Regions from separate parts of the Homo sapiens genome. Here all the other regions are linked to region 1. Evidence: promoter capture Hi-C in human tissues and cell types (Jung and others, 2019). All regions are on one chromosome and are shown on one strand. The core of a region is centred on a gene start or on the middle of the fragment in contact, and the rest is flanking DNA. Distances in the headings are between cores, read along the strand shown.

Region 1 (3,471 bases), core at 158-2,657:
ACGCCTGCCCCTATTGGCATGGCCATCTGTCCTCCGCACTCACCCCATCCGCACACCCACACCCTGTCAGGGCCTTCTCTAGTCACCATCACTCTGACTTCCACCATTTCCACCATCCCGCGTCAGGCAGGATGAGGAAACAGGTGTTGTAACACCAGCAGGCAAAGGGTGCTGGGAGGACGAAGACGCTTGGTCCTGGGCTGGGGGAAGAGCAAACAGATCCCAGGCGCCTTCCTGCAGAAAGCCCCTGGAGGTAGAGTCAGAATTTGAACCCAGATCTGCCAGATTCCCAAGCAGACCTGGAGAGACCCACTGCGAGGTGGTGGCCCCCTGCGGGACCCTTCATGAGGGACCTCCTTGGTCTAGGACCCCACTTGGGACCTCAAACACTCTGCTGGAAGCTGCTGCGACAGAGCGTTTTTCTGCAGCCAGGGAACAGGATGGGGCAGGGCCTTCAAGCCTCAGTTCGCTCTCTAAGGAAGGAACCCGCACCCCCACACAGCATCTCTCTCCTCCACCTCCATCTCCCCTACTCGGTGGCCCACGGGTCCTCCCTGCCCACAGAGCAGCACTGGCCACCCATCCACTGTGCTGTCTTACCCTGCCCTCCACTGTCTGTTATTCCCTCACCGCTTGCTCCTTCAGGCAATGACTAGTGACTGTGCGCCTGCTGTGTGCCCATCCCTGTGAACCAGGCCGCTGCGGGCAGACGGCAGATGTACGGGGGCGTGCAAGGAGCAGAGAGCCAGGAAGGCTTCCGGGAGGAAGCGCCATTTAAGCTGAGAACTGAAGAGCTGATCAAATCAAGTACTGCCCATGGTCAAACAGAAGGCCAAGGTGGACGCAGGGACTGAAGGAAGGCAGTGTAGAGGAGGGCCGGGGGAGGAGTGGGAGGACACAGACGGGAAGACTGACCCTGCACTTCAGAATCAAGACGCAGCCACGACCACCAGCGGCCTAATGCTGCGTCCCGGCGCGGTCGGAGCTCTGTCCCATGCGCACCGCGGGGCCACCTAGGAGTGGCCCGGCTGCATCCACCTCCCGCGCCTCAACCCACTGACTTTTCATCACTACCCTGCGGGGCAGGTCAGCGGTCCCCGTTCCACGAAAGCAAAAGCCGAGGTCCAAAGAGGTTGAGTGCGGCCCCAAATCACACAGCTTGGCCAGTGGCAGTGTCGGGATTTGAACCCAGGGGCAGTTTCCCCGGATTGCTAACGTCTTCTCCGGGTCTCTGCCCCCGCCCCACACCAAGGGAGTGCTCGGAGGGGTTCCAGCCCCCGCTCACCCTCGAAGTAGACCCCCGAGCAGACCCGCAGCACGCGCGGGAGGGAGGCGGGGTCCAAGGCGCGCACGAAGTCCTGCAGCGGCACCGGCTCCATGGTCCCCGCGGCTCTCTGGGCTCAGACTGAGGGGCGGGCGGGCGGTCCCCGGGAGCCCTGCAGCCCCGCCCCGCCGATGCCCCGCCCCGCACGCCGAAGCCGCCCCGCCAGCCCGCGGGAGCCCTGCAGCCCCGCCCCGCCGAAGCCCCGCCCCCCGCCCCCTGCAGTACCCTATGGGGAAGGGGCGATGATGAAGATGAAGAAGTCCCAGACGCCCCCTCAGCAGTGCTCCCAGTTAGAAAAAGGGGACGCGGCCCGACTTGTTCTGCGTCTCATAGGAGGGACATGCCTCTGCCCTTTGGGTTTGAGGAGGGAGATGTAGTGTCAGGGCTCCCGAATGTCCCTCCAGGACACTCCATGGTCCTCTATCGGAAACCTCCTGGTGAAGGGGATCTCATTACCTCTCCAGAACTCCCATACTCTTTCGATAATTATTGTCTACGTTGGCCTCGAACTCCTGGACTCAAGTGATCCTCCCACCTCGGCCTCCCAAAGTGCTGGGATCACAGGTGTGATCCACCTGTGAGCCACCACGCCGGGCCTCACCAATTCTAGTTAAAAATTCTTCCTAAGGCTAAAGAGAAATCTGCTTAGAAGCCGGACCAACCACTTATCCTGACCCCACAGGCTCGGGATAAGCCTTTTCCATTTCCCTGTCCCTCAGGAGTCAGACCAACATAGGTTCAAATCCCAGGTCTCCTCTTGCTCGTTGTATGACGTTAGGCAAATCACTTTGATTGTGTGAACCTCAGTTTCTTACTCTCTAAAACAGGGAGAAGAGGGCCGGGCGCAATGGCTCACGCCTATAATCCCAGCACTTTGGGAGGCCGAGGCGGGTGGATCACCTGAGGTCAGGAGTTTGAGACCAGACTAACATGGTGAAAACCCGTTTCTACTAAAAATACAAAAAAACCTAGCCAGACGTGGTGGCACACACCTCTAATCCCAGCTACTCGGGAGGCTGAGGCAGGAGAATCGCTTGAACCTGGGAGGCAGAGGTTGCAGTGAGCCGAGATTGTACCATTGCACTCCAGCTTGGGCAACAAGAGCAAAACTCCGTCTCAAAAAACAAAAACAAAAACAAAAAAACAGGGAGAAGAGGCTGGGTGTGGCCTGTAATCCCAGCACTTTGGGAGACTGAGGCAGGAGGATCACTTGAGACCAGGAGTCCTAGACCACCCTGGGCAAACTAGCAAGACCCTGTCTCTTAAAAAAAAGAATAAAATAAAATAAGGCCAGGCGCGGTGGCTCACGCCTATAATCCTAGCACTTTGGGAGGGTGAGGCGGGCAGATCTCCTGAAGTCAGGAGTTCAAGACCAGCCTGGCCAATATGGCAAAACCCTGTCTCTACTAAAAATACAAAAAAATTACTGGGCACAATGACTCACGCCTGTAATCCCAGTACTTTGGGAGGCCAAGTTGGACAGATCACCTGAGGTCAGGAGTTCGAGACCAGCCTGACCAACAGGGAGAAACCCCGGCTCTACTAAAAATACAAAAGTAGCTGGGCGTGGTGGCACGTGCCTGTAATCCTATCTACTCAGGAGGCTGAGGCAGGAGAATCGCTTGAACCCGGGATGTGGAGTTTGCAGTGAGCCGAAATTGCATCATTACACTCCAGCTTGGGTAACAAGAGCAAAACTCTGTCTCAAAAAAAAAAAAAAATTAGCTGGGTGTGGTGGTGCGTGCCTGTAATCCCAGCTACTCGGGAGGCTGAGGCAGGAGAATCGCTTGAACCCGGGGGGGCAGAGGTTGCAGTGAGCCGAGATCACGCCACTTTACTCCAGCCTGGGTAACAGAGCAAGACTCCATCTCAAAAATAAATAAATAAATAAGTAAATAAATAAAATATCCAGGCATGGTGGCATGCACCTGCACTCTCAGCTACTCAGGAGACTGAGGCAGGAGGGTGGCTTGAGCCTGGGAGGTCGAGACTGCAGTGAGCTATGATCATGCCACTGCACTCCAGCCCCAGCCTAGGCAACAGAGTGAGAACCTGTCTCTAAAAAAATAAAAAAATAATAAAATAGGAGAAAGAATTATATCTCAGCAGATTGTGAGGATTGAATAAGATGATATAGGTATTGTGCA
Region 2 (3,560 bases), core at 485-2,984, 290 kb before region 1:
GAGTGCTGGGATTATTATAGGCATGAGCCATCGTGCCTGGCTGGTTAAGTTTATTTCTAAGTATGTTATTTTTTTTGAATACTGTTGTAAATAAGATTGTTTTCTTAATATCCTTTTCTCTTAGTCCATATAAAAATCTTCATTTACAAATGAGGAAACAGAGACTCAGAATCACAGGATGAGCTTAGTGGTTGAACCAGGATCTGACCCAGCTCTCGCCCTACCAGGCGGGAGTCAGATGGATACAGAGCAGGTCATGCCATCCCTTTGTCGCATTCCCTTCCCAGCTTTGAGGAACAAAGGTAAAAGCAGGGCCCCAGGTCAAAGGCATCTCTTCCTGGGGCCTCACAGCATCTGGAGCTCCCATTCTCAGGCTGTAAGACAGGTCTGTGAGTGGACAAGCTGGCCAAGGAGCAGTTTGCTTCTAGCAGGGGACACAGCTTGTTCTAGGAGAGTCAGAATGAACCTTGGAGTTCAAAATCCCAAGTCTGCCACTTCCCCGCTGTGTGACTATGGACAAATCTATTTTCTTCTCTAGTCTCACTTTTTACCCCTAGAAAATTAGGTATCTTGTAAAACCAGCCTCACGAAGATGATCTGAGGAGGAAATATGATCATAGGCAAGATGTACTGTATACCAGTAAATGGTGCCCAGTGTCTTGAAATTAGGGGGGCTCCAGCCTCATGATCCCCACAGAGCAAGGAGTACTTGGATCCAAGAGAGTGTGCCCACTTGGAATGTGGTGTTCCCCCGCCTTCACCACTTCTAGTCCTTGCCCTGTTGGTGAATGCACCCTCAGGCCTGCGGGGCTGCAAGGAACTGCTGGTGCAGGAGCTGTGGATGAACTTGGATGTATCTTATTTATAGCTTATAAATATTTAGAATTTTGTACTTTTGACCTCAACTGGCCCCACAAATGTTAAGAGCTAGCAGGACTGGTGAACCCAACTTCCCAACCCACAATCTGGCCTGGGAAATCAACCAGCACATACCTCCTTCTGTCCATCTCCCGATGGTCCCTCCTCTCTGGCTGTCCAGCTATGGATGAGAACCCCTTCTCCAGGTTCCCTAGGGACTGGGAATGTTTCCAGCAGGGATGAGGGCCGAATGCTGCACAGGGAAAAGGGTACCAGATCCAGACAGCAGAATTCTTCTGTCTCATGAATATTTATGGCCTCTCTACCCCACCCCCAGCTGAAGGCTGTGCCTGGGCCAGCTGCCCAGCCTCGATCCATCAGGGAACTGTGCCCATGTGTTAAACTGAGTGGTCTGAGCCTCTTCTTTTCTTTCCAAATGTTCATCCTCTTCCTGAGCTGTTGAAAGCTTTGTTGCCATTAGCTGGAGGCTCTATCTGGAGCTGGCAGGAAAGCCAGTGTGTAGGTCAAAGCCCCTAGGTCAATGTTGGCCCACAGTCCCCTCCCCTGGCTCCAAGCAGCTGGGCCAGTGGGGAGAGGGAGGCTTGGTCATTTGTGGCTCAGGTCCTGTTCCAGCCACTTTGCATACTTATCTTTGAAACCATTGTTAGGATTGTAAGATTTTGCAAATGAAGACATTGAAGGTTAGAGAGGCGAGGTCACTTGCCCCAGGTCATACAGCAAGTAAATGGTAAGCCAGGTATGAACCTGTAGACCTTTCTGACTCCAGAGACCTTGTTCTCCCTAACCCACTCCACCCCAGTACAGCTCCCCTGGGGAGACTGTGCACACTTCCTTTGTGCCGGGGATTTCGGAGCCATCATCAGGGCATGGCCACTCATCCATTCATTCCTCGGTGCCCGACACTGGGATTGAAGAGATGAAAAAGATCTAGTCCCTGCCCTCAGGAAGTGCCCAGTCTGACAAGGAAACAGCCACAGAAATTAATACTTAAAACATACTGTATCAGGTGCTAGACTGAGGAATGCGCCCAGTGCATAGGGACCCAGAGAAGAAGGCAACTCATTTTGCCTGTGGCGATCAGGGAAGGCATCCCAGAGGAAGTGCTTTTTCAGATTAGGTCTTAAGATGAGTAAGATTTTTCTAGGTAAAGCAATAGGCAAAAGCAGGCTGCTGGAAAGGCAAAGAGATTTGAGGAAAAATGGAGTTTTTAGGGAAGCAGCGAGAAATTCAGTGCAGCAAGAGTAGAAAATGAGTAGCGGGGAATGGTGGAAAATAAGATGGGAAAGGAGCTTAGACTTGATCCTGGGCCAGGGGAGCCACGGAAGATGTTAGCCCAGGCAAGTGTGTGGCTGGCAGTTGTTGGGGTACAACATGTCTCAGATTTCGGTGCGTGCACGAATCGCCTGGGAATCTTATTAACATATGGAGTCTTTTTTTTTTTTTTTTTTTTTTTGGAGACAAAGTCTCGCTCTGTCGCCCAGGCTGGAGTGCAGTGGTGTGATCTTGGCTCACTGCAACCTCTGTCTCCTGGGTTCAAGCAATTATTCTCCTGCCTCAGCCTCCAGAGTAGCTGGGATTACAGGCACCCACCACCATGCCTGGCTAATTTTTGTAGTTTTATTAGAGAGGGGGTTTCATTATGTTGGTCAGGCTGGTCTCGAACTCCTGACCTCAAGTGATCCACCTGCCTCAGCCTCCCAAACTGCTGGGATGACAGGCGTGAGCCACCATGCCCGGCCAACATACAGATTCTGATACAGGAGATCTGGGGTGGGACCCAAGATTCTGCATTTCTAACAAGCTTGCAGGTGGTGCCAATGCTGCTCGTCCAAGGACCACAGTTTGAGTCCTGAGTTTGTAGAGGGCTCACTCTGCCTTGTGTGGCAGCTGCTCTGTCTGGGGAGTAGGCAATCCTGTCGGTTGCTGGGTGTTTGTTCACCTGACAAATGTTTACCAAACTTTTGCCCCAGCCAAGCTCCCTGAGTACAGGGGACGGGGAGAGGAATTGAAAATGCCACTTTCTGGTCCATGCCACCACCATCTCTGACCTCCAAAATGCTCTTGCTGTTTCCACGCTTGCTCCCTACCATCTATTCTCTACCTGACAGCTAGAGCGAGTCCGATCATGTTACTTGCCTGCTTAGCGACACTGAAGCAGCTCTCCGAGGCTCACAGAATAAAATCCCAACTCCTTACCATGGCTCAGGAGTGATCTGCAGCCAGGTGTCCTCTGATCACATCCCACTCTTCCCATTTCTCACTCCCCTAGGGCCACACCAACCTTTCAGTTTCTTGTTCCTACTTCAGAACATGATGAAATTATTCCCATTACAGGCCCTTTGCACATGATACTCTCTGGCTGGAATAATCCAGATCGTCCTCTTACTTGTTCCTTTTTTCTTTTTTAGAGTTCAGCCAGGGGTAGACACAGATTTTATAGGTTACTAAAGCTTATACAATTTGAAGGGCCCCCCTTTGAAGATACCAAATTACAAATATACAATTAGATACAGGGCCTAGGAGAGGGCCTTAAAGCTTAAGCTTCATTGACTTCATGGTAAAGCTGTCTGTGGTTTTGTTTGTATGTCACCTCCTCCAAGAAGCCTTTCCTGGTCATTCTACTTAAAACAGCCACCAGCTGGGTGCAGTGGCTCATGCCTGTAATCCTAGCACTTTGGGAG
Region 3 (3,398 bases), core at 352-2,851, 340 kb before region 1:
TCCATCTCAAAAAAAAAAAAAATAGAGTTGTTCCTCCTATTGGCCCTACCCCTGCTCTATGGGGTTGGAATCAGACTTTCGTAGAGTGGGCCAGCCATTGCTCACAGGTTTCCACAGGTGATTCTAATATTCACTCTGATTGAGAACCACTGGGCCTTGTAAATTATAAAGTGTCCATTGGGCTATTTTTTTCTTTTTTGAGTTATTACGGTTTCTCGACATTTGCAAAAATAAAGGGAGGGGGAGTTAAACTCTTTTAATGAATGAAGGAGAAATGCAAAATTTTCTCATGTAAAAATGTCTCTGGGTGTAAAATAAATTATTATTTTTATGATGAAAATAAGCATTATGTTATTTGAGTACCATAAGACAATATAATTGTTATTCTGTTGATTTGATCATTCATATTTCTTTAGCAATTTCTAGAACTGTGTGCCAGCCTGTGTTCTAGAACATGGGGTACTATTCTAGATGCTGATTATAATATATATAATTACTGAGCAACTCTTAAATATACATGTAATTTATTTTCACCTTTTTTATGGTTTTGATTTTGATACTTCCAGGTTCTTCAGATAGATCCTGAAGTTACAGATGAAGAAATAAAAAAGAGGTTTCGGCAGGTACAGTACTATTTCCCTGTTTGAACTTTTTGAAAATGTATGAAGCACATGATTCTTTTATCACTTGCTATTATTGACTTGATATGTTTGGGCCAAAATTTAACTTTTTTTTAAGGCTGTGTAACTGTTTTGTAAAAAAAAGCTCATAATAATATATAAAATCTTAAATAATTTAATGACCATAGCTTACCTATGAATAGAATGAATTTTATATCCAAATAGAATCTCTGCAACTCCTTAATTAAGAGGGATAAGTATAAAGTAGAATAATAGAGCTTGCATGGAGTTGTAACTACCAAACCCCCTGTCTTCTAGGAGGGAACATATCAAATGATTCATAGCACATTTTTATCTTTAAGACTCCATTTGTCTGTAATTTTATCTTTTATTTTTATTCTTATTTTTCGAGACAGAGTCTTGCTTTGTCGCCCACGCTGGAGTGTAGTGGCATGATCTCAGGTCACTGCAACCTCCACCTCCTGGGTTCAAGCAGTTCTCCTGCCTCAGCCTCCCAGGTAGCTGGTATTACAAGTGCATGCCACCACACCCGGCTAATTTTTGTATTTTGGTAGAGACAGAGTTTCCCTATGTTGGCCAGGCTGGTGACGAACTCCTGACCTCAAGTGATCTACCTGCTTCAGCCTCCCCAAAATGCAGGAATTACCGGTGTGAGCCACTGCACCCGGCCGTAATTTTATCTTTTGCCAACTTAAATGAATACCTAAGAGATAACTGGTATAAAGAGTGCTTTTTGAAAGTTCTCCAGGAAAGGAGATCTATAGCTTCTGAATCTTGCCCATTCGTAGGTTTAATAACTGGAACTACAAAGTTTTAAAGTAAACTTAAAAAAAAAATCCTTCCAGTTTTGACAGCTGAGTAACCCTCCCCCCAGCCTTTTTTTCTTAAAAATTATTATTATTTTTTGAGACAGGGTCTCACTCTGTCACCTAGGCTGGAGTACAGTGGTGTGATCTTGGCTCACTGCAACCTGTGCCTCCTGAGTTTAAGCAATCCTCCCTCCTCAACCTCCCCAGTAGCTGGGACTACAGGTGTGCATCACCATGCTCAGATAATTTTTGTATTTTTTGTAGAGACAGAGTTTCGCCATGTTGCCCAGGCTGGTCTCAATTCTGGGCTCAAGCGATCTGCTGGCCTCAGCCTCTCAAAGTGCCATGATTACAGGCATGAGCCACCGTGCCTGGCTACCTTTTTTTCTGAGTTGAATAATCGTAGTCCCTATAATTTGCCTTTGCAAATTGGATTTTCTATATATTCCATGTCTTTTAAAAAAACTTTCCTTAGCTTCTTTATAGTCTTATGTACTTCATATTTTAATAGGGTCTGACCAGAGCTGAATGTAATTTTCAGCTTCTGATGAGATACTTGTTAATATCCAGTGGTGTGCTTGTTTCTTCAGTACAGTAATTTTCCCCATATTGCTGACTCATAGTCATTTTCTGATCTACAGTTAAGCCAAGATGTTTTTTAACTTGGTCTACGTAATCATATCCCATTATATAACTTTATAGCTTTTTTTTTTCCTTCCTAAGCTCTACTCTATACTTATATTTAGCTTTTTCCTTTTTCTAAAATTTCAAATTTTCTAATATGCATTACTAATCATTCCCATATTAATAAGCATTTAAGTTCATAGTCAAAACAATTTTTTATGTAGCTACATAAATAATAAGAGTTAAGAATTCTTAATAAATCATTAATATGGACTGATAGTTAAGAGTGTGCATATTGGAGCTATACAACTAGTTTAAATCTTGACTGTACCACTTAACAAGCAGTGTAAACTTGAGCAAGTTACATTTAACCTTTCCGTGTCTGTTACCCCGTTTGTAAAATGTAATAATGGTGTCTATCCCATGAGTTTGTTGTAAGAATTTAAATGATGTATTACACAGAAGGCATTTAGAGTAACTCTTGGCACATAATGTATCCTCACTATATGCTAACTATTGTCAGCGTGTGTTAGTCTGCTAATTTCTTTACTTGCATTGTTTGTTTCATTCTTATATCAGCCCAATTAGATATAGGTACATAGTATTATCTCATTTACAGAGCAGGAAGCGGAGGCAGAGATAGGTTAAGTGATTTGCTCGAGGTCTCATAGCTAGTAGGTGATTGAAGTTGGAATTAGAACCCAGCATAATGGTTCCAGTAATGCTGAACGGAGCGTTAGATTCCCATTTGTTCTCATTCCCCGACATAGTTCCCTGGGTTCCAACTAGTTGGTTTCTGTCAATTGACAATATGTCATGGTTTTTAACTGTGAGTATCTGAATTACCTATGAAAGTTCTTTTTTTTTTAGCTGGTTTATTATAAAAATTTTATATAGAAAAAAGAATGGACAAGCATAGTGGCTCATGCCTGTAATCCTAGTATTTTGGGACATTGAGTCGGGCAGATTGCTTGAGCTCAGGAGTTCGTGACCAGCCTGGGCAACATGGTGAAACCCCGTCTCTACAAAAAACGAAAAACAACAACAGCAAAAGCCAAAAATTAGCCGTGCCTGTAGTCCCAGCTACTCAGAAGGCTGAGGTGGGAGGATCACTTGAGTCCAGGAGATTGAGGCTGCAGTGAGCTGGGATAGCACCATTGCACTCCAGCCTGGATGATAGAGCAACACTCTGTCTCAAAAAAAAAAAAAAAAAAAAGAATAGAACAACGAATATTCATGTATCCACCATCTATATTGAATAGTTAATTTCATTTATATATATATATATATATATATATATATATATATATATATATATATTTAT

The links. The method cuts DNA at HindIII sites, captures the fragments that hold promoters and counts their contacts. A contact is called where the count stands out against the background at its distance.
Region 2: a fragment that was not itself captured here is called in contact with the fragment with the promoter of THEMIS2 in region 1 in 2 of the 25 tissues and cell types used here (bladder and dorsolateral prefrontal cortex).
Region 3: a fragment that was not itself captured here is called in contact with the fragment with the promoter of THEMIS2 in region 1 in 1 of the 25 tissues and cell types used here (spleen).

What each region holds. Positions count from the first base shown.
Region 1 is chr1:27,870,480-27,873,950 of GRCh38, reverse strand. THEMIS2 (thymocyte selection associated family member 2) reads right to left here and starts at 1,407. Exons shown (of 6, transcript NM_001105556.3): 1 at 1,286-1,407. The coding sequence starts at 1,379. RefSeq lists a silencer at 1,290-1,559. The HindIII fragment of the contact is 20,371 bases long and covers 1-3,471 here.
Region 2 is chr1:28,161,602-28,165,161 of GRCh38, reverse strand. The region is part of intron 1 of PTAFR (platelet activating factor receptor); the gene reads left to right. Among named protein-coding and RNA genes, the nearest start is that of PTAFR, 13 kb to the left of the region's middle. The HindIII fragment of the contact is 3,366 bases long and covers 52-3,417 here.
Region 3 is chr1:28,212,165-28,215,562 of GRCh38, reverse strand. It overlaps DNAJC8 (DnaJ heat shock protein family (Hsp40) member C8), which reads left to right. Exons shown (of 9, transcript NM_014280.3): 3 at 567-623. Among named protein-coding and RNA genes, the nearest start is that of DNAJC8, 19 kb to the left of the region's middle. The HindIII fragment of the contact is 6,266 bases long and covers 1-3,398 here.